Regions from separate parts of the Homo sapiens genome. Here all the other regions are linked to region 2. Evidence: promoter capture Hi-C in 16 types of primary human blood cells and fetal thymus (Javierre and others, 2016). All regions are on one chromosome and are shown on one strand. The core of a region is centred on a gene start or on the middle of the fragment in contact, and the rest is flanking DNA. Distances in the headings are between cores, read along the strand shown.

The links. Contacts are between HindIII fragments. The CHiCAGO score rates a contact against its expected background, and 5 or more counts as called.
Region 1: a fragment that was not itself captured here is called in contact with the fragment with the promoter of HSDL2 in region 2 in 7 of 17 cell types (endothelial precursors, total B cells, M1 macrophages and 4 more); the score reaches 7.6 in endothelial precursors.
Region 3: a fragment that was not itself captured here is called in contact with the fragment with the promoter of HSDL2 in region 2 in 3 of 17 cell types (activated CD4 T cells, non-activated CD4 T cells and fetal thymus); the score reaches 6.0 in activated CD4 T cells.
Region 4: a contact is called between the fragment with the promoter of DNAJC25 here and the fragment with the promoter of HSDL2 in region 2, in 1 of 17 cell types (fetal thymus). The highest score is 8.9, in fetal thymus.
Region 5: the fragment with the promoter of ZNF483 here is called in contact with the fragment with the promoter of HSDL2 in region 2 in 4 of 17 cell types (naive CD4 T cells, total CD8 T cells, total CD4 T cells and 1 more); the score reaches 6.8 in naive CD4 T cells.
Region 6: a contact is called between the fragment with the promoter of ECPAS here and the fragment with the promoter of HSDL2 in region 2, in 3 of 17 cell types (total CD8 T cells, non-activated CD4 T cells and activated CD4 T cells). The highest score is 6.4, in total CD8 T cells.
Region 7: a fragment that was not itself captured here is called in contact with the fragment with the promoter of HSDL2 in region 2 in 15 of 17 cell types (megakaryocytes, total B cells, fetal thymus and 12 more); the score reaches 12.8 in megakaryocytes.

Annotation. Positions count from the first base shown.
Region 1 is chr9:111,738,181-111,741,122 of GRCh38, reverse strand. It overlaps SHOC1 (shortage in chiasmata 1), which reads left to right. Exons shown (of 28, transcript NM_001378211.1): 12 at 2,601-2,843. Among named protein-coding and RNA genes, the nearest start is that of SHOC1, 55 kb to the left of the region's middle. The HindIII fragment of the contact is 1,456 bases long and covers 807-2,262 here.
Region 2 is chr9:112,378,687-112,381,612 of GRCh38, reverse strand. It overlaps HSDL2 (hydroxysteroid dehydrogenase like 2), which reads right to left and starts at 1,505. Exons shown (of 11, transcript NM_032303.5): 1 at 1,433-1,505. The coding sequence starts at 1,449. It also overlaps a transcript of PTBP3 not described here. RefSeq lists a silencer at 1,302-1,551 and enhancers at 1,772-1,891, 1,323-1,922, 1,922-2,171, 2,272-2,321. The HindIII fragment of the contact is 10,070 bases long and covers 1-2,926 here.
Region 3 is chr9:111,664,780-111,667,768 of GRCh38, reverse strand. DNAJC25-GNG10 (DNAJC25-GNG10 readthrough) reads right to left here. Exons shown (of 3, transcript NM_004125.4): 2 at 823-954. The coding sequence ends at 829. GNG10 (G protein subunit gamma 10) reads right to left here. Exons shown (of 3, transcript NM_001017998.4): 2 at 823-954. The coding sequence ends at 829. Among named protein-coding and RNA genes, the nearest start is that of GNG10, 4.7 kb to the right of the region's middle. The HindIII fragment of the contact is 4,198 bases long and covers 1-2,989 here.
Region 4 is chr9:111,630,062-111,633,119 of GRCh38, reverse strand. DNAJC25 (DnaJ heat shock protein family (Hsp40) member C25) reads right to left here and starts at 1,786. Exons shown (of 4, transcript NM_001015882.3): 1 at 1,377-1,786. The coding sequence starts at 1,712. DNAJC25-GNG10 (DNAJC25-GNG10 readthrough) reads right to left here and starts at 1,786. Exons shown (of 3, transcript NM_004125.4): 1 at 1,377-1,786. The coding sequence starts at 1,712. It overlaps LOC107987116 (a long non-coding RNA gene), which reads left to right and starts at 1,917. Exons shown (of 2, transcript XR_001746897.2): 1 at 1,917-2,080. RefSeq lists enhancers at 1,053-1,102, 1,833-1,922 and a silencer at 1,453-1,742. The HindIII fragment of the contact is 9,325 bases long and covers 1-3,058 here.
Region 5 is chr9:111,523,923-111,526,622 of GRCh38, reverse strand. ZNF483 (zinc finger protein 483) reads right to left here and starts at 1,444. Exons shown (of 6, transcript NM_133464.5): 1 at 1,361-1,444. RefSeq lists enhancers at 281-780, 892-1,091 and a silencer at 1,192-1,541. The HindIII fragment of the contact is 1,786 bases long and covers 1,416-2,700 here.
Region 6 is chr9:111,483,117-111,485,816 of GRCh38, reverse strand. It overlaps ECPAS (Ecm29 proteasome adaptor and scaffold), which reads left to right and starts at 1,434. Exons shown (of 50, transcript NM_001364929.1): 1 at 1,434-1,701. RefSeq lists silencers at 1,335-1,874, 1,995-2,114, 2,385-2,700. The HindIII fragment of the contact is 4,796 bases long and covers 1-2,700 here.
Region 7 is chr9:111,755,749-111,758,660 of GRCh38, reverse strand. SHOC1 (shortage in chiasmata 1) reads left to right here. Exons shown (of 28, transcript NM_001378211.1): 7 at 466-577; 8 at 2,183-2,336. Among named protein-coding and RNA genes, the nearest start is that of SHOC1, 38 kb to the left of the region's middle. The HindIII fragment of the contact is 1,826 bases long and covers 500-2,325 here.

The DNA of each region.
Region 1 (2,942 bases), core at 285-2,784, 640 kb after region 2:
TAAAAGTTTTAGTTGCCCAAGCTTTCCAAAAAAGACGTTTAAAAACATTTTAACAACGGCCGGAAATTAGCCGGGAGTGTCGGAGCGCACCTTTAGTCCCAGCTAGTCGGTAGGCTGAGGCCCAAGAATCACTTGAAAACCTGGGAGGCGGAGGTTGCAGTGAGCCGAGATGGCGCCATTGCGCTCCAGCCTACGTGAAGGAGCAAGTCTCTGTCTCAAACAAACGAACAAACAAACAAAACAAAAAAAATGGCCGGGCACCGTGGCTCACACTTGTAATCCCAGCACTTTGGGAGGCCGACCCGGGCGGATCATTTGAGGCCAGGAGTTCGAGACCAGTCTGGCCAACATGTTGAAACCCCCTCTCTACTAAAAATACAAAAATTAGCTGAGCATGGTGGTGCACGCCTGTAGTCCCAGCTACTCTGGAGGCTGAGGCAGGAGAATCGCTCGAACCAGGGAGGTGGAAGTTGCAAGAGCTGAGATCACCACTGCACTCCAGCCTGAGCAACATGGTGAGACTCCATCTCAAAAATAAATAAATAACATTTTAGCAAAACTTGTTTATAGTTTAACAAAATAATTTTGAGGTTATACATTTCACATGTATATTCAAAATTTATCTGAGTAAGTTAAACTCTTGTCTGTGTCTGAACTATTCCATCACGGAAATGGAACTTTGGATAAGGTATTGTTTTAAAAAATTTTTAAATGAATCACTGAGTTGCATTTGGAGGCCAAAAACAAAGTGAAAACAGGAATCCTGGGAAGCAAGTAAGCACCAAAGCTGGCTTTCACTCCAAGCTTTCTATTAAACCTTGGAGACTTTGAACTTCTGTTTTGAGGTCGACATGTAGTGTAGAGTCAAGAAATATCCTACGTGGAGGGTCTGATAGGGGACCCCTACATAAAACTGGGAATTCAACAAACTACCATCAAAATAAGAGCATACAAAAGTAAACCACCATATATAGAAGGGAACTCCGAATAAATTTGCATATTTCTACCTTGGAGCTGGAAGAGAGGAAAAGAAAAAAAATTTCTCTTAAGTACTGCTAACCAGAAGGCAGCCATCATGCCTGGTTGCAGTCTGAATTCAAACCACCTATATACTTTTAAAAATAGTGGTGATTTAATTTAAAGTGGTCCCAGGTTGACAGTGCCTCCCAAACACATAGAGACAAAAGTAAATCCTTTCTAGAGGAAAATAAATTTTTTTTCTGGAAGAATGTACTTCAACTCGTGCTTCAAAGACCTTCCACAAAGTTGAAAGAAACACATGCTAATAGACAACAATCACAAAATATATTGGCATGATCAGTGAGATACAGCAGAAACATTAGACATCAAAATCAGATCATATATTGAAATTATCAGTTACATAGTATAATATACTTTTAAAGCAAAAAAAGGGGGGAACAAGACGTCTTGTATTATTTCTTGCAACTGCATGTGAATCTACAATTATTTCTACCTGAAAAAAAGGAATGGACTGTTGATATACACAACACAGATGATCTCAAAATAATTATGCAGAATGACAGAAACCACAAAAAATTCATATGGTATAATTCCATTTATATAAAATTCTAGAAAATGTAGTTTATAGTGTCAGGAAGCAGAACAGTGGGACAGGGGTTGGGGGATGAGGAAGATTAGAAGGGAGGTATAAAGAGGCAGGAGGGATACAAAACTTCGGAGGGAATGGATATGTTCATTACCTTGATTGTGGTAATGGATTCATGAATGTATAAATATGTCAAAACTTATGAGACTTTTCACTCTAAATATGTGTAGTTTATTGCATGTCAGTTATACTTTAATAAAACTATTAAAAATTATACCTATTTTATAGAATTATTTAGGGATTAATTAAGAATAATGCATGTAAAGAAAGCACTTAGCATAGTGCCAGATGTTTTTTAGTAACTTGTAATTACTATTATTAATATTAGTATTTTTAAGTTTTAATTTCTTCTTAATATTACTGTCATTATAAAAGCACCATTCCAAAATTAGAGTTTCAAAATTTATAATCCTAATTTCAGGTTGATGTTTATAATGCAGATAATAATATTAGGTAGTTGTGCTACTTCAGTTCCTCCATATGTTATGATTTCTCCCGTTTAGGCTAGAAAGTAATGAGGCAGTAAGCGCTGTACCACAATATCTAAGATGATATAGTCATCATAAAATCTGAACAAATATTTCTTCTTGTTTAGGCTTATTATAATGAGTTAGAATTTCTAATTTAATAAAGCTTGTATTACTTCAAAATGTTAAACATTAATTTAATAATTGAAAATGGTCAAACAAAATAAGATTTCCTTCTACTAAATATCAGAATAATTTTAACTTTTTGATATTTTCAAAGAGTGAAATAAATCCTTTATGTGACTTCTACTGCTACAATAGCTTAAACTTTTACAAATATTAGCATCTTGAGACAAAAATACCAGCTATAACTTCAAGTTTCACTTATTTTCTAATGCATAAAAATGCATTTCATAAAGAAATTCCAGTGTGGTTCTGTTTATTGTGTTTTGTTTCTTTTGCTTTGTAGACTGTTTCTAACTATTTGTTTTTTATTTTTTTTTAAGTGCCAAGAATTCAAGAGCCCCACAGCCAATATTCAGTTACAGATTTGAAAAAGATATTTTCTGTTAAAGAAGAAAGCCTTGTGATTAATCTGGAAAAGGCAGAGTGGTGGAAACAAGCAGGACTAAATCTGAAAATGATGGAAACATTGGAACATCTGAATACATATTTATGTCATGATAATTTGTCTTCTAATGACACTAAAATTGAGATATTTTTGCCTACGAAAGTGCTTCAATTAGAATGTAAGTACATCACAGTAAATATTAGTTATGTAAACATTTTCAGAATGTGAAAATGTTAGATTCTGGATTTCCTCTAGGTAATTGGGAAAATCACTAGGT
Region 2 (2,926 bases), core at 256-2,755:
GGAGGCCGAGGCAGACGGATCACGAGGTCATGAGATTGAGACCATCCTGGCTAACATGGTGAAACCCCGTCTGTACTAAAAATACAAAAAAATCAACAGGGCGTGGTGGCACGCGCCTGAAGTCCCAGCTACTCGGGAGGCTGAGGCAGGAGAATTGCGGGAGGCGGAGGCTGCAGTGAGCCGAGATCATGCCACTGCACTCCAGACTGGAAGACAGAGCGAGACTCCATCTCAAAAGAAAAAAAAAGGAGGCGGAAGATCTGCCATGTACTAAAAATGTATGTCCCTGGGCACAGCGGTGCATGCCTGTAATCCTAAATACTCCAGAGGCTAAGAAGGGAGGAACATCAGCCTGGGAGTTCAAGGCTACAGGCCAGTCTGGGCAACATGGGAGACCCCGTCTTTAAAAAAAACAAAGAAAGAATGTCCCAAGACATACCAACTAAAAGTAGCAAGACCAAGAATAGAGTCTGCTGCTATTTTTAAGAAAGGGTATGTGTGTGTGTGTGTGTGTGTGTGTGTGTATCCGGATGTATACAAATTATGTTCATACATGCACGAAATAGAAACGTAAGTAACTGGGGAACTAGATTTTAGGGATGGGGAGACTCACTTTTTACCCTATACTCTTTGAACTGTTTTAAGTCTTTGGCTATATGCCTGCATGTTTCAGGCAAATTACAAAATCTGACAACACGTCACTCAACTCAAGATACCCAGACCTTACATAAACCAGAAAGTAGAATGGTGGTTGCCAATGTACGAGCGGAGGTGGGGAAGAGGAGTTGTTTCATGGATAGAGTTTCAGCTTGCAGATGAAAAAAGTTCTGGAGATTGACTGCACAACGATATGAATCTACTTAACACTACTGAAGTGTACACTTAAAAAACGGTTAAGATGGCAGATTTTGTACGTATTTTAACACAATTTTTTAAGGTGAAAAAAAAATCCCCCAAAGATACCCATGTTTTAAGATCGGTTTAGTTTCTAATTTGGAAATCATTTTTTAAACACTCCATTATTACTCTAGAATTGAGCGTCAGGAACAAGTGAAAACTCTTTAAACTCTGGAGCTGCTCCTGCGACCTTTCACCTAGAACTCACACGCATTCGGCCAGGCACGCACTCCTGCTAAACTCAGGGAGGGCCGGCACTGGGGGCGGCGTGGTGACTCCCCCTCGGCCCTTTACCCGTGGAAAAGGTTTCTACACTGCTGCCATCCTGTAATACAAAAGTTTGTGTTCCTTTTCACACGTTACCGCAGATTCTCGGTGCACAGTGCCCAGCGCGGACCAGAGCTCAGAGCGTGCCCAGGCAGTATCCTTGACCTCCCACAGCCGGGCCGGCCAGCCCGGGCGATCCGCGGCGGCCCCACCGAGACGCGCCCTTCGCCCGACAGGGTCTCTCCCCGCGCCGCCCCTACCCCCTTACCCGGTGTTGGGTAACATGACTTTCGTAGATCAGAGGAGGTGGCGGCGACAGCGGCGGCGGCGAGCAGAGAGCTAAAGCTGGACCGTCCCTCCGCATTTATCCCCGCCCCTGCCCCGCCCCTGCCCCCCCCGATGCCTGTGCGGGAACTGCGCGCGGAAAAGCCGGGATCGCCGAGTGCGCCTGCGTATGCAGTGGGCCTCCTGCGCCCAGCGTTCCTCTTCGTCGCCTCCCAAGCCTGGTCCCTGATTGCAGGCTCTCCGCGCAGGCGCTTTGAGGCACAGCTCCGCCCCGCCCCCTCACTGGTCGTACGGTGACAATCAGGCTCCTGTCGGCGCCTAGCGTCTGGGCAGCGTCAGCCGCTACGTCCACCTTTTCCCTGTCTCTAGGGGTTTCTCCTCGCGCCGCTGTGTTCCAGCGCCGGCTCCGAGCTGGGAGGGTGACTGAGCCCTGAGCTTGGGCCCTCCGAGAGGTGCGTTAGCTCTGGGTCTTCTTGCCCCTACGCCCGAGCCTGGCGTTCTCTCGGCCCCCTCTTAGGAACGCTAGCCCTGGGCAGAAATTGCCTTTGTGGCTGAAGTCGGCCAGCGTCGCGTTTCCACTCTCCCGCCGAATCTGGACCCAAGCCAGCCTTCCCTTGTGCATCGGTAGATAGCTTGTGTTAAGGCGCCAGCTTCTTGGAACAGAGCTCTCTGCAAAAGTCGCGCTGAAGAATTCATAGTCAAAAGCTGAACTTGCAGAAGTTTCTACTTCTGGAATGAGTGTTGAAATGAGATCAATTCTGACATTCAGTTTCGCTTTTGGGATTATGCCTTGGACTAACTCAGCTACTCTGATGAGCTAAAGACTGTAGTATATTTGAAGGAAGACACGAGGAACTGTTTTGTATTTTGTAGGGATAGAACAGGACCTTGAGGAGATTATTATATGAAGACTAGTTAAAGAAACTAGCCTGGAGATGGCTTATGTACTCTCTCCTTTGTTTTTGTTTTGTTTTTTGAGACGGAGTCTCGCTGTCGCCCACGCTGAAGTGCAGTGGCGCGGATCTCGGCTCATTGTAACCTCCGCCTCCCGGGTTCAAGTGATTCTCCTCCCTCAGCCTCCGGAGTAGCTGGGACTACAGGCATGCATCACCACGCCTGGCTAATTTTTTTGTGTTTTTAGTAGAGACGGGGTTTCGCCATGTTGGGCTGGCTGGTCTCGAGCTCCTGACCTCAAATGATTGGCCCGCCTCGGCCTTCCAAAGTGCTGGGATTACAGGCGTGAGCCTCCGCGCCCGGCCTCTCTCCCCTTTGTTATGGGCCCTAAATGACTCTATTTCCTCCTGCATATCACCTGCCCGACTCCTGTAGGCATTTGAATTGATGATTCATGATACGGTCTTTAGAGGCTCCAGAGGAATTTGCAAATTATTATCATCCACTAAGTGATTGCTGATTACCTGAGATACAGCAGCTCAAAAAGGACAAGGTCTCTGCCTATGGGAGGTATGAGTAGCCA
Region 3 (2,989 bases), core at 202-2,701, 710 kb after region 2:
AGCTCTTTTAACCCCACTCACACTTTTTCCCAATAGCTATATTTCTTCCTCCATTAAAACAGAGATATATTCTGAAAACCATTGGGAAAGAAATCACAGCGGGTGGTAGGCACACATCTCCCACTCTGGGGAGTCCTTATTCCCAAGAGTAGCAAGTCAGTTGATAGCACTAAGTAGCAAATCCCAACCCTTGGATGCTATAAGGACAGAGAGGGTGGGCTTAAGGTCAAGAAATTACTGGCCAGGTGTGGTGGCTCACACCTGTAATCCCAGCACTTTAGGAGGCCGAGGCGGGTGGATCACCTGAGGTCAGGAGTTCGAGACCAGCCTGACCAATATGGTGAAACCCCATCTCTATTAAAAATACAAACATTAGCCGGGCGTGGTGGCAGGCACCTGTAGTCCCAGCTACTCGGGAGGCTGAGACAAGAGAATTGCTTGAACCTGGGAGATGGAGGTTGCAGTGAGCCAAGATCATGCCACTGTACTCCAGCCTGGGTGACAGAGCGAGACTGTCTCAAAAAAAAGAAAGAAAGAAAGGAAGAAATTACTACCAGCCAACTCAAAGAGCTCAAGTACAGAAGGATGTTGGCATCTCATGACTTAGTGCCAGAGAGACTTCAGACTGTCCTGATTAGATGTATTCTACAGGCAAGGTAAATATACACTAGAATCACACTTCAGGGAAAGTTGTGCATTTTGCTGGCTCTTGTTTTAATTTCCCCAAGAATAGGAGACATTCAAAACTCAGTTGCTCAAGTCCTTTGGGAAGCCCTGTGATAATGCTATGGGCCCAAGACATCATGGTGTATCATTACTCACGAGTCTTCAGAGTAAAGCACAGGATCTAGGCTCCCGGAAGGGGTTACTTCCAGCTGGAACACCCACCAGCAGGGCATCCTTGCAGGCATTCTGCATACAGTACTGTTGAAGCTCTGCAGCTGCCTGAGAGACCTGAAACAAAGGGACAGCAACATGGCACCCTGCTCACAGCCAAGCCACCCGGCAGTCAAGGATATTCTGAAAACGATCATCCAACTTGGTAAATATCAACTTTTTGTGACCTCCAAAAGTCTCTTTCTGCTGAAAGTTCTAATACTTGAACTACAAAGAGAAAAGGTTACAATTTCCATGAACGTCAATTTAGATATTTTTTGGTTTAGTTGCTTATTCAACGAAGACAAGAAAAAGCTGTATCTTTGATCCATTTAGAAATCTAGTTTTGAGACTGAACGGGTAAAGAAATAGCTCATTCTAGCATTCCCTTTACAAATTTTTACTTATATAAAACATGCATCAATATATCCAAGTTTGCCAAATGAGCAAATTGTCTTAATGTTTACAAGTCTGAAGCCTTATTCAGTCTGCTCCAAACAAGTGATAAAGTTCTTCCGCCTTGCTTTTGAGGCGGTATAGCTTATTATTTGGGAGTATAGCCTCTGGAACCAGACTGCGTGGACTCAAATTCAGCTCTGCCACTACCTATATAACCTTGGGCAAGTTACTCAACGTCTCAGTAGCTGCTTCCTCATCTGAGAAATAATTAGAAATAGTAACTCACCTCTCTGGGTTGCTGTAACAATTAAGTGAGTTCACACATATAAAGCTATTAGAATAGCGCTAACATATAGCAATACATTTGTGGTAGACTGCAAACGTGATCACAATAGTTTGCAGCTCCTTCCACGAAGAGGTAGAGTCTATTGACGCACCCCTTGAATCTGGGCTGACTGTGGCTGGGCGCAGTGGCTCACACCTGTAATCCCAGCACTTTGGGAGCCCAAGCGGGGGCAGATCACGAGGTCAGGAGTTCGAGACCAGCCTGACCAACATGGTGAAACCCTGTCTCTACTAAAAAAAAAAAAAAAAAAAAAATTAACCGGGTGTGGTGGCGTGCACCTGTAATCCCAGCTACTCAGGAGGTTGAGGCAGGAGAATCGCTTGAACCCAGGAGGCGGAGGTTTCAGTGAGCCGAGATCGCACCATTGCACTCCAAGCTGGGTGACAAGAGCAAAACTCCGTCTCAAAAAAACAAAAAAAGAAAAGAATCTGGGCTGACTTTGACCAGTAGAATGTGGTAGAAATAAAGGGCAAGTTCCAAGCTAGTCCTCAAGAGTCTCTGCACCTATCTCTCTTGGTGCAGGTGGAACTGTAAGACAACCATCTGAAGGAGCCCAAGATAGCCTCCTGGAGGTCTTGTAGAGGAGAACTGGTAAGCTACAACCAGCACCTGCCTATCAACCTGCAGACCTGTGAGTGAGGCCATTCTCAATCACCCAGACACCAGCCAACACCAGTTAACACTCTATCTGATTGCAGATGCATGGGAGAGCCCAGAAGATCAGCAGAACTGTACACCTGAACCTAGCTCAAATTGTCCATCTAAGAACTGTGAGTATAAATCTTTTAAGCCACTAAATTTTGGGGTGGTTTGTCAGGCAGCAAAAACTAACTGATACAATATCATTATCCCTTTTCTTATCTTCCATTTGATGCATATTTCTACTTGGAGGTTTTCCTCATTGTACTTTTTTTTTTTGCATTAAAAGGCATTTTGAATACAATTCACCCATATTGTACAAAAATGGTTCCAATTGCTGTTCAGGTATTACTACTAGTTTGTGTTAATTTTCCAAGCCTCCAAATAACTGGAAAATTAACTGTTTATGTTACAATTGCTACCAAGTTTCTGGACAGCTCCAGGAATTTTGGTTGCATTAATGTAATGACAGTTTACTCCATATTATATGAATATAAAACCATAATATAATATTACCAGGCTAATGCTAAAGTTTGCTTTTGCTCTCAATAGAAGCTCTGACATTTTCATGTGAATTATAATTGGAATTAATGGTTATATATACCAGTTATTAATTCAAAAGAAATCGAGAATCAATTATGCTCAGGCTTACTATCTTTGCATTGGGGTGGCAGGTAAACTCCACACATGGTAGGTGGAAGGACACTGTCTCCAGGACTCCTGGAGAAA
Region 4 (3,058 bases), core at 537-3,036, 750 kb after region 2:
GGAGAGTTCTTTCCTATTTTTTCTGGAGTCTTTTTTCCATCACTTTTTACATAATCGGCAACAAAGCCCTTTGGGGCCTCAGCACTTTCCCAGTTCCCCAGCCATCCCTCAGTTAACTGCCAATAAAAATTACAATCTCACTAACGCTAGTGAGAATTTAATGAACTAGGTAAATTAAATTTTACCTAGTTCAATTCACCTAGTTTACCTAGTTCAGGGCCCGCCCCTCCACCACTCATTTTATGACTCCAAATTATCCAAACTGCTCTGGAAGGCATCAATAAAGTTGTTAGCTCCTTGACTATTTTCAGCTCTGGAAAAACAATCTGGAGGAACAATCCAAGGTAAAATTATATCCACTCAAAGTACAATCATTAAAAGCAGGCTACCTGGCAACATAGAAAATTTTGCCTCGGGAAAAAAAAAAAAAGGCTAGAAAAGAAATACTTTACAACTACAATCGCTGACGCATTAGTATGATGGGGCCCTTCAAGCAGTAATACCACCATCAAGTACGATTTATACTTCGTGATGTCCTAGATGGTTTGATTTTTTGCAGTAGTAGAAGAAAACAGCATCGGGCTAAATCTCTCATCCCCACAAGACTCAATAAAACCTGTCAAATGAAATACAAATACATATTCACAAAATATTTCCTACTAGAAATTCTCAGAGTTTTGTACCCAAGTCATTAAGCACCTATTTATGGATCCTATGGAAAGGGGGGCGGTTCGCACACTTATCATTTAATCCCCATAATAACTCTGAGAGGAGGTATCATGGCCTTAATTTTGCATATGAAGAAACAGCTATTTCAACATAATAAGTCACTATCCAAGGTCATACAGGGGTGTCACAGCAAAGACTCACATCCAGCCTTTTGACTGGTGTTCATTGTTCTTCTCAGTGTTTTCTTAGTTCCTTAAACCCAAACTAAGCGTCACCATTAACACTATTTCCAGAAACCAATTTTCTGTCATATCAAACTGATGCGATCACAGTTGTCACTTGATATTCGAGACTTTCCCTGTTGTGGGCTACCCCAGATCCTACTAATAATGATCACCCTGCTTTTCGAATGTGAAATGCACGTTATTAAAATATTTTCACGAAATCGTAAGATGGCCAAAGTTTTGCATAACAATGTCACAAAAAGGAAGAGGGCAAGGAGGCTAGCTGTGCCCCCCAAGGCCCCGTGGGGCCGACTCGGCTCTTTCACAGGGCCACGTGGGAAACGTGAGTATCTTAAAGGTCGCGGTGGTGGCTGTGCTCAGTTTCGGGGTCACAGAGGCCCACGCTCCGCGGACCGGGGTCGGAAGGCGCCGTGGGCTTCCCGCGGCCAGTCTTCGAAGCCCCTCCACGCCCGCAGGCCTCACCTTGAGTGTCTCGTAGGCGGTTGCCACCAGCAGGAAAGCCTCCTCGGCGCTCTGCGGCGTCCGCCCGGGGCCCTCGTCTCCGGGCTGGGGCCGGTAGCGGTCAGGGTGGTAGCGCCGGGCCAGCTGGCGGTAGGCCCGCGCGATCTCCGCCTTGCCCGCCGAGCGGCTCACGCCCAGCACCTCGTAGCAGTCCCGCGTGCCGCAGTAGAGCCCCTCCACCAGGGCCCCCGCGGGCCGCACCAGCAGCAGCGCCGGCAGCAGGGGCGCCAGCAGCATCCACCAGCGCCGGCCGGCAGCCCCGGCTCCCCAGCCGGGAGAGAGCAGCGGCGCCCCCATCCCCAGCCTCGCTGGCGGCTCTGCCACCCCAGCGATTCTGCAGCACTCAGCCGCGCGCCCGGCTAGTCCCGTCTGGCCCCAGCTACACGTCAGCAGCCGACGCCTCCGCGCAGGCGCACAGGGCGCGGCTACAGCAACTACTTCCTTCGCAACCCGTTGGTAGGGAGAAGGACGCCTCAGCCACTAGGCTGCTTCCGGTGTGTCACTGAACACCTTCCCCGTACCAGCAGCTGGAGGATTTGTTTGGTAGCACCTGGGGGATGGCTCTGTCCCGGGCGCACTTAGGCGGGCTGTGCGGAGCGCTTTACCTTCCACAGTGTCCGGCACACGCATCCTTTTCGACATCATCACTTGACCTGCTGCAATAGGTAACCTACCTGGCTCTCTCGCATCCCGTTATCAGCGTCAAGAAGATTTGCACGTAGGCCTTTAAAGCCAGCCACCAGCCCCGGGCGCCTTCCTCTCACTAACCCCATGCTGCCTTTCCAAACGGAAGATGAACTTAGCAATTCTAGGCGCTGCCTGTGTACTAGGTAGGGACCCTGAAAGTTCATAGCCATCTAGTTCAGTTTTTCTCAGCCTCCACGCTATTGACATTTTAGACCAGATAATTCTTTGCCTTTGAGGGGCTGCCCTTTGCATTGTAAGATGTTTAGCAGCATATCTGGCCTCTCCACACTAAATGCCAGTAGTGCCACCACCCCCAGTCATGACAATAAAAAATCTCTGTACGCGGGTCTGTGCGTCCACCTTGGGCTGCGCGTTCCCGGGACAACCTGCTGGAAGGATCAAGCGATCCTTCCAAAATGCTAGGATTACAGGCGTGAGCCACCGTGCCCGGCCTACATTTGAATTTCAGATAATAATTTTTTAGTATAAGTATGTCCAAAATATTGCATGGGACTATATGGCAACATGAAAAACTTTGCCTCAAAAAATCTGTTTCTATCATTCATCTGGTAAATGTTTATTGAGTCTCTACTCTGAGCCGGGCACTGTTACTTAGGCACTGGGGATACAGTGGTGAGCAAAGTAAACAAGAAGCTCAACTTCAGAGAGCATATATTCTGATGGAGGATGACAGTCAGTAACAAATAAATAAACGTTCAGATATAATCAACTCTTTTAATAAAGTGAAATCAAATACTGATACATAGCATTATATACTTATAATACATAATGAATATACATTATAATTTTGTATTTCTCATTGAATAAATATATATCTCTCATTACATATATCTCCCTCATTACATATATAATATATATAATCTCATTACACATATATGTCTCTGTCATTACATATATAACATATATGTGTCTATTTTTCACCTCAGCCCACTAAA
Region 5 (2,700 bases), core at 195-2,694, 850 kb after region 2:
GCCCAATTTAATATTTGACTTTCAAATTTCTCTTCCTCCTTACTTCTCCCATCAATCGCCAAGTTCTGGCGATTTTATTTCCTAAGAACCTCTCCATTCTATCCTTCTGAAACTGCCTAAGTACAGGGTTCTTCACTCCAGTCTCACACTGTGGCCAAAAAATTCCTTCTAACATGCAAAATATGATCTTATCACTCCCCGGCTTACAGTCCCTCACCAGCCACCGAACTGTCTCTCGATAAAGTTCACATGCAGGGACCATGGCATTGTGATCTAGAGACACTGTCTGATGACCTCACCTCTTGAGCTCTAGCTACCCGATTGACACTACAGCCATAAATTAGTATCTCCTCTCTCTCTACATACTCTCCTAGCCTTTGCACCAAGGCTATTCCCTCTCCTCGGAATGTTGCTTTCTTTCTCCTACCAAACTTTTATTCGTCTTTAAAGCCTGACTCCTTTCAACTGTCACTTCTGGTGTGATGCTCTGCTTGATCCCAAAGCACTCCTTTGCACACAGACTGCCCTGTGTTGCATTCATTCATTCATTCTATAAGTGACGGAGCAACTACAATGAGCTGGAACGAGACCAGGGGCCATGAGCTGCGGGGCCAGGCGTGGACAGGCCTGAAAGGGTCCTCACGCTCACAGAGGGTCCAGGAAATGACAATACAGCCGGAGCGGGACTACAATGCGACAAGTGAAGGATGTGACAGCCTCGCATTGCAACTACCATACCAATAACAACCCACTTCCGAGTACAGCGCCCGGCACACAGCAGCATGACGTCATTTATTCCTCTGCCAAATATTAGGCGCCCACCACGTACCTGGCGCCGTGCTGAGCACCTGGGGCTCCGCGATGACTAAGACACTCGGCTCCGTCTACAGGGAGTTTACATAGGAGGCCCGGTGAAAATGTGACGCAGCCAGAGGATCTCAACCAGAGGGAAGAAAAAAGGAGAGATTTCACCCCCCAGCGGTCCTCTGGCAATGTCTGGACACATTTTTGGTTAGCTCGACTAGGACGAGAGGTGGTACTGTTATCTAACGGGCAGAACCAGTGACGCTGTTAAACATCCTGCCACAACGGGAGAGCCTCCCCCTCACCGCCACACCACAAACAAAACAAGGCATTATCCCGCCCAAAATGTCAACAGTGCCCAAGTGGCGCAGGGAGGGATGGAGGGAAGCCAACAGCCCCATCCCGCAGCGGAGTGCGCACCTCCCACAGAAGCAGCAGCAGCGCAGCGCACAGCCCGTTGGTAGGCTGCTCCCGGCCCCCATCCCGCCCCAAGTGCGCCCTCGGAGCCGGCGACCCGGCCACGGCCCCGAAACTCGGGGCCCGGGACGACCAGTACCTGCATCAGCATCCGCAAACAGCACCAACGCCACCGCAAAGAGCTTCCAGAAGCTTGTCCCGCAGCGAGTGCGCGCGCAAGCCTGCGGGAACCACTGCGCCTGCGCAGAGGCGCTGAACCGGACTCCCCGAACGCGCTCGTGCAGCTTTCCGAAAGTCCGCGCTTTCCATAGGCTCCCACCTGCCTGTTGCGCATGGTCACTGGGAAGCGGCTAGTGGGCTCGGCTGCAGAATTATTGCTGCGCCAGAGGCTCAGAGGCCTAGAATCGTATGAGGTTTGCAGATCCAGGAGGCTCCATCTGTTTAGTAACCTCAGACCTTCCCTACCCGCTCCCATCACTTCCATTCCCTGAAATCTAAGGTGGAAAAATCCACCGCAGAAGCATATTACCGATGCATTTAATGCAAGCCATAATTAATGCCACAACTTGAGTTAAACACATATTAATCTTATGACTTCCACACCTGCCCCCATGGTCCAGTCCACCCTCATGGCTCACCTGGATTATTGCAATAGCTTCTTGATTATACCTTACTTCTCTTGGCTATTCTCCACAGCCAGACGGACGTTTTAAAAACGTCAAATTATGACCCTCCTTTGCTTAAAACCCTGCAATGGTTTCCCATTTCACTCAGAGTTAAAACCCAAGTCTTTATAGTGGCCTACAAGGCCTGATGGAATCTAGCCCCTGTAACCTCCCGCACCTCTTCCCCACTTTCCTGCTCCAATCTTGATAGACCCCTTCCTCTTCTTGTAACCTGCCAGGTACTTCCGGCTGACCTGCTCCTTCCCTAAGTGGCCATACGGCCCGCTCTCTCATCCCTTCAGGTCTTCTCAATGAAGCTCTCCCACCATTCCACTTAAATAGGAATCCCACCTTACTCTTGTTTCCTCTTCTAACATGCCCTATAGGTTTGTTAATTTTTTTTTTTACTACTTGTCCGCCTTCTCCAGTAGAATACTAATTTCAGAAGAGTAAGTATTTTTATTTCATTTGTTCTAGGTTGTGTGTTTAGGTCCTGGAACAGGACTTGGCCCATGGCAGGCACTCAATAGATATTTGTTGAGCTTATGAATGAGTATTTGCATGGATTATTGGGGGCATTGCAAAAAGGGCCAAAGAACTCCAGAAAAATTGTTTGGAGGGTTCTAATAACTGGATGATCCCTGAAGGGGTGGAGTTAGGAGAGAAAGACTAGATTCATTCTAGACTGAAGGAGCAAGGTGATTCAAGGCCCTGAGACTTCAAAAGGGCAGAGCAAGCTCAACTAAATGAACCACTCCTCTCAAAAGGAGTGGGCTTATCACAGGCAGCAAGTCAAGCTGAAGAGACAGGGCTG
Region 6 (2,700 bases), core at 185-2,684, 900 kb after region 2:
ATTTATGGGCATGAGTGGGATGAGGGGGGATGGTGGGTATGCAGTTGGGAGAAGACCTGTATACACCTCTCTATTGTTTGTAAGTAGTTCATTGTGTATTTATTTTGGAGGCAACATCAAATAAAAGAGGAGCATACATGAAAAAAGGGGTTGGTTAACTTAGTGTAGTATGAAGTTACAAACAAAAAAGGGTGATGGTAGTGCAGTGTTTTGAATTAACATGGAACAATGTGTGTGAAGGAATAATTGATCCAGAACTTTATTGTAGAAACCTGTCCCCATCAAAGCCATACATGGGGCTGTATATATATGTCCAGAGAAAAGGTCTTCTGCACACTTAACTGTAACTGTTAGTCATAATTTCTCTGCAGAGTGGGATGGTGGGGCTAGGAGGAAGGACTTTCACTTTTAATTTTATGATACTCCAAATCATTTGCATTTTTTTTTTACAAAAATTATGTATAATTTTTCTTTTTTTTTTCTTTTTGAGACGGAGTCTCGCTCTGTCCCCCAGGCTGGAGTGCAGTGGTGCGATCTCGGCTCACTGCAAGCTCCGCCTCCCGGGTTCAAGCGATTCTCCTACCTCAGCCTCCCGAGTAGTTGGGATTACAGGCGCGCGCCTCCACGCCCAGCTAATTTTTGTATTTTTTAATTAGAGACAGGGTTTCACCATGTTGGCCAGGCTGGTCTCGAACTCCTGACCTCGTGATCCACCCGCCTAAGCCTCCGAAAGAGCTGGGATTACAGGCGTGAGCCACCGCGCCCGGCCCAAGATCATGTATAATTTCTATAACAAAAACAATAAAGGAAATAAAAATGTCTTCAGTGTTGTACCTTGTACTTGGCCTATGTTACAACAGGAATGACATATATTCCATTTTTAAGACATTACTTAGGGCTTTATAGATTTCTGCTTTAAGGAATAAATGCAATTTCAATCTATTTAAGACTTGATTTCTTCTTATATAAAAAAAGTATCTGATCTTGTATCTAATTTGTTATGACAGTACCATCACTTAAAGTACAGCAATTATGCAACCCCTGAATTTGAATTTCATTTTGCAAGTGTACATGACCTCACGGACAAAGCGAAGGCAGAAAGTTAAAATCAGCATATCGAAAATAAATCACTCTAGTTACCGAAAAGAACATAGGGTATCTGAACAAAATCTCAGAGCTCACATAGGCATAGATACTTCCATGTGAACTTTAGGAATCTTGCCTTATCTAACTTTTGCAGGGCTGAGTGGACCCCCTGCTCCCGCTAGCCGTTTTGGGAGCACCAGCCACCTCCACACCAGAACTGGGCTGTCGGGGGCCGCTGCGGCGCAGGGGCTCGTCCGGGACTGAGTCAGCGCCGGGGCCGAGAAGTTCGGCGGGAGGCGCAGGGCGGGGCTTCCTCCCGCCGACTCCGAGCCCGGCTCTACTTTTCTGAGTCCACGTCTCTTCCTTTGGACAGGCGTGTTTCCCCAGGTCGGGCCCAGCCAACGTGACAGCCGCAGACCTCGGAAAAGGGCGCTCCGGCCCCGCCTCGAGGATTTCCCCCGGCCGCTAGGGCAGCCCGGGCCCGCTCGGCCCAGCCCCTCACGGACTGCGGCGCGCGGCTCCCCGGGGCCCGGCCCGCCGAACGCCTCGCTCTACAGCCCTCACCTCGCGGCGCCGAGCGCAGCGTCCGCGGCATGGAGACCGGCTCCGACTCAGGTCAGAGGCCCGCCCCCGGGCCGCGGGGGACTGGCCCTGCGCGCGCGGCGGCGCGGTTAGGCCGGGCCGCCCGCACAGGCCGCCGCGTGTCGAGTCCGCGCGGGGAGCGCACGCGGGGCGGGCGGCGACAGGTGGGCAGGACGAGCCGCGAGCGAGCGAGGGCGGGCGGGCGCGCGAGGGGCCCGGCGGGGGGGCCGCTGGGAGGATGGCTCAGCTCTTTCTAAATATAAAACCGGCGTGAGTTGGGCGAGCGCGGCGCGGAGTCGCAGAGCCGCCGCGCGGGCCTGGCGCACGGGGATTCGGCCGCACAGACGGCGGCGGCGGCAGCGGCAGCGGCTCCGCAGAGGCGCGAGGCTGCGGGAGCGCCCGAGTCGCGAGCTCGCGGGGGCAGCGAAGGGCGACGCTCGCGACGCGGAGGACGCAGGCGGCGGCGGCGGGCGGGCCTCGGGGCACAGCGCGGTCCGCGCCGAGTGAACGGAGGCGGCTCGCGGCCCCTGCCGCACCGCGAGCCGCGAGCCCCCCGGCCGCGCCCTGCCCCCCCAGCCCCTCCCTCGTTCCCTCCCCGGCGCAACATGGCTGCGGCCGCCGCCTCCGCCTCCCAGGATGAGCTGAGTAAGTGCCGCGGCCGAACCTGCGGCCGCGAGCCGGAACGGGCGCCGCGCGGTGCCGGGGGCCGGCGGCCGCATGAGGGCTGGGGCGCCAGGCCCGGTGGGCGGGCGGCGGCCGCGGCGTACGGGGAGCTGGGGAGCCCGGGCCTGGCGGACGGGCGGGGCGCGGACCGTCGCCGCTGGCGTTTGTAGGCCTCAGGTTTGCACCGTCACGTTGCGAAATTGAAACCGGAGCCCCGGGCGGAGCCACCTCTGCCCGCGATCCGCCCTGGCCCGGGGTCGGGGGAGCCCAGCCCCCTGCCCACTGAGCCTCGGCTGGCGGGAGGGCCGGAGCCCCGGGGTGACGGGCAGTGTCCGCCCGTCCCGTCTGACCCCGCCTGGCCCCGGGTCC
Region 7 (2,912 bases), core at 163-2,662, 620 kb after region 2:
TTAAGAGGTGAAAATGTTTTAGTATGATCACAAGCTTAGATGTTATCAACAATGTTTTTTTTTGTTTTGTTTTGAGATGAGTCTTGCTCTGTCGCCCAGGCTGGAGTACAATGGCGCAATCTCGGCTCACTGCAACCTCCGCCTCCTGGGCACATGCGATTCTCCTGCCTCAGCCTTGCTGAGACTACAGGCGTGCGCCACTGTGCCCAGCTAATTTTTGTATTTTTAGTAGAGACATGGTTTCACCATGTTGGCCAGGCTGGTCTTGAACTCCTGACCTCAGGTGATCCACCCGCCTCGGCCTCCCAAAGTGCTGGGATTACAGGCGTGAGCCACTGCACCCGGCCAATAACTTTTATCATCGTTTTACCTCAACTTTAATTTTAATGATTATGTGTTTTGGTTGGCTACATTTAGTATGTAACTTGCTTTTAGTAAACACTAATTAATGTATTTTTTTTTAAGGGAATGTTTCTCTCTTCAAGAAACTTTGGAAGCTTTTGTGAAAGAAGATTTTTGTATGGATAAAGTGAACTTTTGTCAAGAGAAACTAGAAGATACAATATGTTTAAATGAGGTTGTAATACTGGCTTTCAATAATATTTTAGTAAAAGTAGTGAGGCACATTTTTGTAAAATTTGTGTAATATACATTGTCTACAATTGTCAAATTAAAAAGATTTTATAATGGAATGAACATGTATCAATTAAGAAGTCAAATTTACTTCTAAATAGTGGTTCTCAGCCTTGGCTGTATGTTGGAATTACCTGAATAGTTAAAAAAAAATGTTGAAGCCTGAGATATATTCTGATAAATTGGTCTGGTGTGCAGGCCAGTCATAGGGAACTTTAAAATCTCTTCCAATAATTGTAATCAATATACCTGGTATAGGAAATTAAGTAGTCATGTCTAGTTTAAAAATTGACACCTGAACTAGAAATATTGATTTGTGAGTTATACACAAAAAATAGTACTTGAGCTAATGAGAATATTGCAAGAGTAAGAATATAGAGGGTCCAAGACTGAATTTTAGTTTTCTGCCAGTGTTTAACAAGGATGATAGCATCTTTTGCATATTAAAGGCCAAACTTCTCAAAGATGCATTTAGTTTCAATAGCACACAAAATGGTCATAATATCAGTATGTAAAGAATTCTAGCTATTGCGATTGCAATAACTTTTTGCAGCTGGACAAGCTCAGAAATCTAGGCCCATATTGATTAGATGCGTTCACAAAGCTACTTTAAAAAAACATTTTTTGGCCGGGCGCGGTGGCTCACGCCTGTGATCCCAGCACTTTGGGAGGCCGAGGTGGGCAGATCACGAGGTCAGGAGATCGAGACCATCCTGGCTAACATGGTGAAACTCTGTCTCTACTAAAAATACAAAAAATTAGCCAGGCATAGTGGTGGGCGCCTGTAGTCCCAGCTACTCGGGAGGCTGAGGCAGGAGAATGGCGTGAACCCAGGAGGCGGAGCTTGCAGTGAGATCGCACCACTGCACTCCAGCCTGGGTGACAGAGCGAGACTCCATCTCAAAAACAAAACACAAAAAACATTTTTTTAGGACAACTTAAAATGTTTTATATTTGGAGATTTTAATGGACTTAAAGCACTTAAGGGGTTTCCTTACAATAAAAATTTTAACATGATGGTAAAAAGGTTAATTCACCAATAGGCCCCATTCCTCCAGTACCTCTTGCTTCCCAGGTTAACCCTGAGAGTTGTGGACTTAGTCTCTCTTGTTGAGGAGTCAAGTTCTGTTGGAATGAAAGAGAAACATACTCCATGGATCACAGTAAAGATCTATTCCATTCCATGATCTCATTTCACTTCTCACCATTTATTATCTCTCATCTACTGCAGTGACTGTTTTTAATTTAAAATGTTTACAATTTGCTATTAGCCAAAAAGAAGCTATTTCTGCATCTAGGGATATTGTACACCACTAATGTAATGAGTGACCATAAAATACAATACTCAGAGAGAACATTGCTTATAATAGAACGTATTTTTAGCTGCTACATTTCTGTTTTTTTAAAGTATATATAGCTTTAACAATTTTGAATGTGGATTTAGTTTAAAATTTGGCACATCATTTAAGCAAATTTTGTCCACTTATGATTTCGAAAATATTTATTTGGAAAGCCTCTCTAAAAACTTTTTTAAACTATGTTTTTTCAGCCGTCAAGTTTTCTTATTGAGTATGAATTCTTAATACCTCCAAGCCTCAAACCAGAAATTGATATTCCATCACTCTCAGAACTGAAGGAGTTATTAAACCCAGTGCCAGAAATAATAAACTATGTAGATGAAAAGGAAAAGCTTTTTGAAAGAGGTGAGAATTAATTGTAAAATGTATTACTTGTAAAAACCACTTAAGAATGTTTGTTACATAGGTTCTTGTTTATTAAAATTTTTCTGAACCTCCAGATTTTGCAAAAATGTTCTGCAAGTTACATGTTGAAATCTCAGGATTATTTTTGATGAGATTATTTTCTCATTGTCATTTTCTTGTTGTTGTTGTTGTTGTTGTTGTCGAGACAAAATTTCGCTCTTGTTGCCCAGGCTGGAGTGCAATGGCAAGATCTCAGCTCACCACAACCTCCGCCTCCCAGGTTCAAGCGATTCTCCCACCTCAGCCTCCCGAGTAGCTGGGATTACAGGCATGCACCACCACACCTGGCTAATTTTGTATTTTTAGTAGAGATGGGGTTTCTCCATGTTGATCAGGCTGGTCTTGAACTCCTGACCTCAGGTGATCTGCCCGCCTCGGCCTCCCAAAGTGCTAAGATTGTAGGCATGAGCCACTGCACCCAGCCGTCATTCTCTTTGTATGACTTTCAGGTTTAAAACGTCTCTGAAATTTAACCATTTCAAGATAATTATACAAATAAAACTAAAACACCTATGA